Linked DNA regions of Homo sapiens: region 1 is linked to region 2. The links are contacts of gene promoters, found by promoter capture Hi-C in human tissues and cell types (Jung and others, 2019). All regions are on one chromosome and are shown on one strand. Each heading gives the region's core, a stretch centred on a gene start or on the middle of the fragment in contact. The rest is flanking DNA. Distances are from core to core; before and after follow the strand shown. Region 1 overlaps ADGRA2 (adhesion G protein-coupled receptor A2). Region 2 holds the start of ASH2L (ASH2 like, histone lysine methyltransferase complex subunit).

Region 1 (3,643 bases), core at 188-2,687, 300 kb before region 2:
TAGCCTGTTACACAAGGCTGAGTGCACAGTGGCTGTTAGGTAGCTCTGAGCAATGAATGAATGAATGGATGAATGAATGAATACCTAACTGTGGATGATTACAGCAGACTATGTTCCTTGTGCTCAAGCCAGGATGCTGTGACCCCCAAATCCCCATCAAGGTATACTGATTACCCCCAACTGTTTCCTCTTCCTCTCTGGCACCACCTCGGGTAGCTTCAGACAATGTGACCCCTATGGGTGTGGCATTTTCTTTTTCTTTTTCTTTTTCTTTTTTCTTTTTCTTTTTTTTTTTTTTTTGAGACAGAGTCGAGTCTCACTCTGTCACCCAGGCTGGAGTGCAGTGGCACGATCTTGGCTCTCTGCAACCTCTGCCTCCTGGGTTCAAGCAATTCTCCTGCCTCAGCCTCCCTAGTAGCTGGGACTACAGATGCATGCTACCTTGTCCAGCTAATTTTTGTATTTTTAATAGAGACGGGGTTTCACCATGTTGGCCAGGCTGGTCTCGAACTCCTGACCTCAAGTGATCCATCCACCTTGTCCTCCCAAAGTGCTGAGATTACAGATGTGAGCCACTGCGCCCGGCATGTAGCCCATTTTCTTAGGCTTCTGTCTCCAGATTCTGTCCCAAAGCCACAGATTCCCTTCCCATCCAAGCCCCAGTTTCTTGGTTCCCCCTGCTCACCACCAAGTTGGGGTGCCCTTGTAGAGAGGGTAGGTTAGAGAAAGGAGACTAGACCTATGAGAGAAGGCAGGGTGGAGCAGGACTCACTGCAGGTCTGTTTTCTCTCATGGCCTGGGCCTCCAGCCCTGCCTGGACAGCCCAGCTTCCAGGCTGGGTTCAGGGGCAGTCTCAGGACCCAACCCCCTAAAGCCCCTCCCTAGGCCTCCTTCTATTGCCAGTCGGTGTTCAGGGCTGACCTGACAAGCGTCCAGCCCAGGGAAGGGTGGCAGGGAAGTGCAGGAGCGGGCAGAACACCTTACATGTCCTCACCAACATTTATGTCCCTTGCAGTCAGGCTAAATGCATGTGAAGGCAGCCACGGAGGGACGGGAAGCCACAGGCCAGCCTTTCGCTTGAGGTTGTGTGTTGAAACAGGGCCTGTGCACGGCGAGCATCCTCACTTTTGGAGGTCTTACTGTCGTATCAACCATACTAAAATGTACCCACATCCGTCATCGAACATAATAATTATTGCTAATGACATAGTATGACATTGGGTAATTATGTCATTAAGCATTGGTTAATTTCCGTCTTTGCAGCATCTATATTTTAGAGGCAATGCTTCTTTTTTAGGTTTTAGGCATCTCTTTGAGCCCTGGAAATGCTCAAAGGCACAGCGGCTGCAGGGGAGGCTGAGAGCTCTGATTTCGGTGGGTGTTCGAGCCCCAGGGCTTTTTGGCATCAGCAAGCAGACTGCCCCCTACCAGTTCTGTGATGGTTTCCCTAAGACACGGCCAAGCTGCCAGTGGCAGGTGTTGGAGACAGGGCCTCCCAGACTCTGGGAACCTTTAGGAACCTAGTGATGGCCTGAACCGATGGAGGCTCCAGGATCAGACTCCCTAGGGAGTATGGATATCCCAAGTCCAGAGAGGAGCTCATTGGGTCTGAGTGGTTGGCAGGGGGCTGACATGCATGACTCTTCCCGCACATGTGAGAAACATTTAGTTCAGGCATGTGCTATGTGCCCACGTGACTCCTGCAGGGTCATCTTTGATGTTGGGGTGGTATCTGGTACGTTCCTGCGGCTGCCCAGAGCCCACAGAGCCTCTCTGTAGACGCCAGCCGCTTGCTCCCTTGGCCTCCAGCCTCATTAGTGGGAACTCTGCTTGCTTCTCTCCCACAAAATGGGACCCCAGCCGGGAGAGAGTTCTGGAATGGACTCGGTGTGCCCCCTCTCTCTGGCCAGATTTCAAACTCTGAAGTAGAGAACAGGAGACTCCAGGGACTGGCCCTCCTTCCTGTGAAAAGCTTGACATTAGGAGTGGGAGAAGGGCGTGGGAGGGAGGGAAGAAAGAAGCCGAAGATGCCTGGCCAGGCCAGCCAGGGCTCTGGGGCAGAGCTAGTGTGTGGTTGGGCAGGACATCTACCTGGCTGGCCCCCGTGAGGTTTTAGGGTCAGAGGACGGAGCAGGTTGAGGAGGCGTCTGTCTTGTGGGGGTTGAAGAGGGCCGAGGCTGACCCTATGTCTGTGTTGGATGGAGCTGTGGGTCCAAGGCTCCCTCCTTCCCTGCCCAATTGTGGCCACTTTGCCTGCTTTCCTCCCAGGGGACAGCCTAGAATGGTGGGAACATTTTTCTGCCCATTGGATGAAGCTGTGTGTGTGTGTGTGTGTGTGTGTGTGTGCATGGGCCTGCGTGCATGTTCATCCCCATCAGCAGTGCTGTAACACCCAGCTTTCTACCTGCCCATAAAAATGCCAGACCCAGCCAGGCACAGTGGCTCATCCCTATAATCCCAGCACTTTGGGAGGCTGAGGCAAGTCGATTTCTTTAGTTTAGAAGTTCAAGACTAGCCTGGGTAACATAGTGAGATCCTCACCTCTAGAAAAACTTTTTTCTTTCTTTATTTATTTTTATTTTTAATTTTTGTTTTTGAGACAGAGTCTTGCTCTGCTGCCCAGGCTGGAGTACAGTGGCATGATTTATCTTGGCTTACTGCAACCTCCACCTCCCAGGTTCAAGCGATTCTCCTGCCTCAGCCTCCAGAGTAGCTGGGATTACAGGTGCGTGCCACCACACCTGGCTAATTTTTGTTTTTAGTAGAGATGGGATTTCACCATGTTGGCTAGGCTGGTCTTGAACTCCTGGCCTCAAGTGATCCACCCACCTTGGCCTCCCAAAAAGCTGGGATTATAGGCATGAGCCACCGCATCTAGCCTCTACAAAAACATTTTTTTTTTAATTAGCTGGTCATGGTGGCGCATGCCTGTAGTCCTAGCTCCTGGGGAGGCCAAGGTGAGAGGATTGCTTGAGCTCAAGAGGTGGAGGCTGCAGTGATTTGTGATCATGCCACTGTACTCCAGCCTGGGCAATAGAGCGAAACTTGTCTCTCTTAAAAAAAAAAAAAAAGACCAGACCCCTGCACTATCTGTCTAAAACTGCCTGCCCTCCTCTCCCCAGATAGACCCACCACAAGGCACCCTCTGGAGAATAGAACCAGCAACTCAATGTCAATGGAGGCCCCTCTCTGGATAATCTAGGTCTAGAGTAAACTTCCTCAGACCTCTCCAGGTTGTTAAGGCCAAAAGATCCAACCCTGGGTATCTGAGGACTCGAATCACACAGCAATCTGCCTGAGGTCTTTCCAAGAGCTAGAAATTTGGCAAGAAGGGGGCCCCTTGGAGGAGAAGGATGAAAAGGCCTTTGCCTGGTGCCTGCATCTGCGAGTGGGTCAGAGGGTGGGGCATCAGGACCATGTTCTCTGCAGCAAGAAAATATCTCATTTCAAGACTTTCAGGGCTGGAGTTGGTGCTGGGCTAGCCAAACCGGAAGCGTGGGCTGCAGCTGCCCCCCACTCAACTCAGCCCTTGCCTCCCAGCACACACAGAGGCTGCCTCAGAGAGAGAGGGGTGGGTGGAGGGAAGAGAGAGAGAGGCCGAGACCGGGACTGCATGAAGTCTGGGCTCAGGGCAGCCTGGGGA
Region 2 (3,155 bases), core at 319-2,818:
AACCCGAAACCGCGAGGTGGAGGTTGCAGTGAGCTGAGATCGCGCTACTGCACTCAGCCTGGGCGACAAACCGAGACTCCGTTTCAAAAAAAAAAAAAAAAAGCCGTGCGCGGTGGCTCACACCTGTAATCCCAGCACTTTGGGAGGCCCAGGTGGGTGGATCACTTGAGGTCAGGAGATCGACACCAGCCTGGCCAACATGGTGAAACCCCGCCTCTACTAACAAAAATTAGCCGGGCGTGGTGACAGATACCTGTAATCTCAGCTACTCGGGAGGCTGAGGTAGGAGAATCGCTTGAACCTGGGGTGGAGGTTGCAGTGAGCCGTGATCGGGCCACTGCGCTCCAGCCTGGGCGACAGAGCGAGACTCTGTCTCAAACAAACAACAACAAGAAAACACAAAATTCTGCGACCATATGTTAAAACTGCTACAATACTACGTATTTGGGAGGAGATACTTAGATCAAGCATCCTGCTTCTCTTTGGAGTACCAACCCCTGATTTAAGTATTTATCATCAATTTTAAAAATGTAACCTGGCAACTCAGTTAGGTCTTTCTTCAATTTTGTTGAAAACCAATAATTGAGAACCAATTGGGAAATCAATATCTACGTATTTCCCATGGCGTCCAGTGGCCCAGAGATTCCTACACTATCGGTGGACACATCACAGTAAGATTAGACTGAGGATTGGCGAGGGGTGCGCCGTTCTTGTGTAAAGCGGGAGAAGAGTGTATTATCGTTAGGCAACATTTTAGGATATAGGATAAACACTGGTGTCCTGAAAACGTTCCTGGCCGCAACACTCTCAGAGGTTTGCATTCTCGAGTTTGGAGACCATGGCTCTGAAAGACTCAACTCACTCCACTGATGCCAGCCACCAGCTACTGTTGATGACTTCCCAAGTTCGTACTTTCAGTCCACACCTCTTCCTTTCGCTGGGCACCAAACTTGTCTACATTCCGAGTGCCCCGGCACACCCCGGGGCTTCGCTTTCCGCCTCTCACAGTAGGAAGCGGCGAGCCGCTTCTAGTGCCCACGCCGCTCCTCGGCTGCCCGGCCTGGGTTTTCCACCCTCGCCCCTGGAATCGGCCTCCCTAGATTCCCTTCCCTCTTAAAATCATTTGGAAACGGGCTCCAAGGGGCGACCCTGCGCAGAAAACCAAATTCCATCCGGGGCGGGCAGGGAGTGCTAGACTCCAAGGAAGACGTTTCCCACATTCGGTGGTGAGGAGTGTTTGGCGGCACGGCACGGCCAGCGCTCTCAAGGACCCTCTTCTGCGCAGAATATCCAGTCGTAGCCACGAAAATACGCCGCGTCAGTCCCTGACTCGAAAGGAAGTCCTCCAGAGAGCCGCACTAACCATCTAGCTTCCTCCACCTTCAGCCTGCCAGGCCCGCGGCCACCGCCGGCGCGGGAGGCCGGCCCACCTCTGCCCGCGCGCCTGGCCTTAAAGCGGTCGTGGAATTATGCTTCCTCAGGCAGGCGGTGGACGCACCGCGGGCTTTTTCTGTTTGAAGACTACAGCGTCACACAGCAACGCGCGCGAGAGAAGAGAGTATTCTCGCGAGAAGTCCAGGGGTGGCCGTGATGGCGGCGGCAGGAGCAGGACCTGGCCAGGAAGCGGGTGCCGGGCCTGGCCCAGGAGCGGTCGCAAATGCAACAGGGGCAGAAGAGGGGGAGATGAAGCCGGTGGCAGCGGGAGCAGCCGCTCCTCCTGGAGAGGGGATCTCTGCTGCTCCGACAGTTGAGCCCAGTTCCGGGGAGGCTGAAGGCGGGTAAGAGGTCCTGCCGCCCGAGGAAGACGCGGGAGGGAGGCCCGCCCCTCGCGAATCCCGCGGCTCCTGGAGCCCTGCCGCCCGCCCCCTGCGAACCCAGGCCCCGCCGCCAATGGCTCGCCCTGCCTCTGCGCCGCTTGGCCCGTCCCCTCTCAAGCATATCTCGGATAACGCCCCTTCCGCACCTTTCACGGGCGGTGGGAGCTGAGGCTCCTGTCGTTATCTCTGATCCTTGCACCCTGGCAGGAAGCTGGTAGCTCACACTTTAACGGGAGGCCTTCACATATTCCAGAAAAGAAACCACTTTGCAGTGCCAGACTGGAAGAAGTAACGGTCACTCTGAAAACAGGGTGGGAGAGCTGCCTCTCTTTGAACCTCTCCCAGGACCAACTCTAACCCAGGTAGATTTGACTGTAAAGGCCGGTTAGGCTTCCCTGTGCTCCGTGGGTCCGCGACTGTCTGACATGTCCACCTTCTCAGTATCCTGACAGTACCTTGGGCATCCAGTCTGAGATCAGGCTTAGCTGAAAAAGCTGCAGGAGTATGAAGTTCGGCTGTAATTTGATCATCATTTTTGGGAATAGGCATTTTGAGGTTTGTCTTGAGAATTCTTACTTGAGCGCTTTCATTATCTTATAGGGAGGCAAACTTGGTCGATGTAAGCGGTGGCTTGGAGACAGAATCATCTAATGGAAAAGATACACTAGTAAGTATTTTTAGTTGTTTGCAAGACAAAATAGGGTTTGTTTTAGTTATTTCTTCTTCTTCTTTTTTTTTTTTTTTTGTTGCGACGGAGCCTTGCTCTGTCGCCCAGGCTGGAATGCAGTGGCGCGATCTCGGCTCACTGCAACCTCCTCCCCCCGGGTTCCAGCGATTCTCCTGCCTCAGCCTCCCGAGTATCTGGGATTACAGGCATCTGCCAACACACCTGGCTTCTTTTTTTTGTCTTTTTAGTAGAGACGGGGTTTCACCATGTTGGCCAGGCTGGTCTCGAACTCCTAACCTCAGTTGATTCTCCCGCCTCAGCCTCCCAGAGTGTTGGGATTACAGGCGTGAGCCACCGCGCCCGGCCTTGTTTTTACATTTTTAAGCGAATCAAAAATACATTCAGGCCAGGCACGGTGGCTCATGCCTGTAATCCCAGCACTTTGGGAGGCTGAGACCTCAGGATCACTTGAGACCAGCCTGGGCAACATAGGGAGACCCCCGTCTCTTAAAAAAATAAAATAAAGTAAAATACATTCAAGTCAACTGATTTGAGTCTCGAACTGCTCTGACACAGGAAGGTGCTGGGGATACATCAGAGGTGATGGATACTCAGGCGGGCTCCGTGGATGAAGAGAATGGCCGACAGTTGGGTGAGGTAGAGCTGCAATG

Evidence for each region. The method cuts DNA at HindIII sites, captures the fragments that hold promoters and counts their contacts. A contact is called where the count stands out against the background at its distance.
Region 1: a fragment that was not itself captured here is called in contact with the fragment with the promoter of ASH2L in region 2 in 1 of the 25 tissues and cell types used here (spleen).

The regions. Positions count from the first base shown.
Region 1 is chr8:37,806,243-37,809,885 of GRCh38, forward strand. The region is part of intron 1 of ADGRA2 (adhesion G protein-coupled receptor A2); the gene reads left to right. Among named protein-coding and RNA genes, the nearest start is that of ADGRA2, 11 kb to the left of the region's middle. RefSeq lists a silencer at 3,274-3,496. The HindIII fragment of the contact is 6,704 bases long and covers 1-3,643 here.
Region 2 is chr8:38,103,961-38,107,115 of GRCh38, forward strand. ASH2L (ASH2 like, histone lysine methyltransferase complex subunit) reads left to right here and starts at 1,569. Exons shown (of 16, transcript NM_004674.5): 1 at 1,569-1,778; 2 at 2,418-2,484; 3 at 3,061-3,155. The coding sequence starts at 1,591. RefSeq lists silencers at 1,337-1,426, 1,757-1,956 and an enhancer at 1,537-1,666. The HindIII fragment of the contact is 26,659 bases long and covers 1-3,155 here.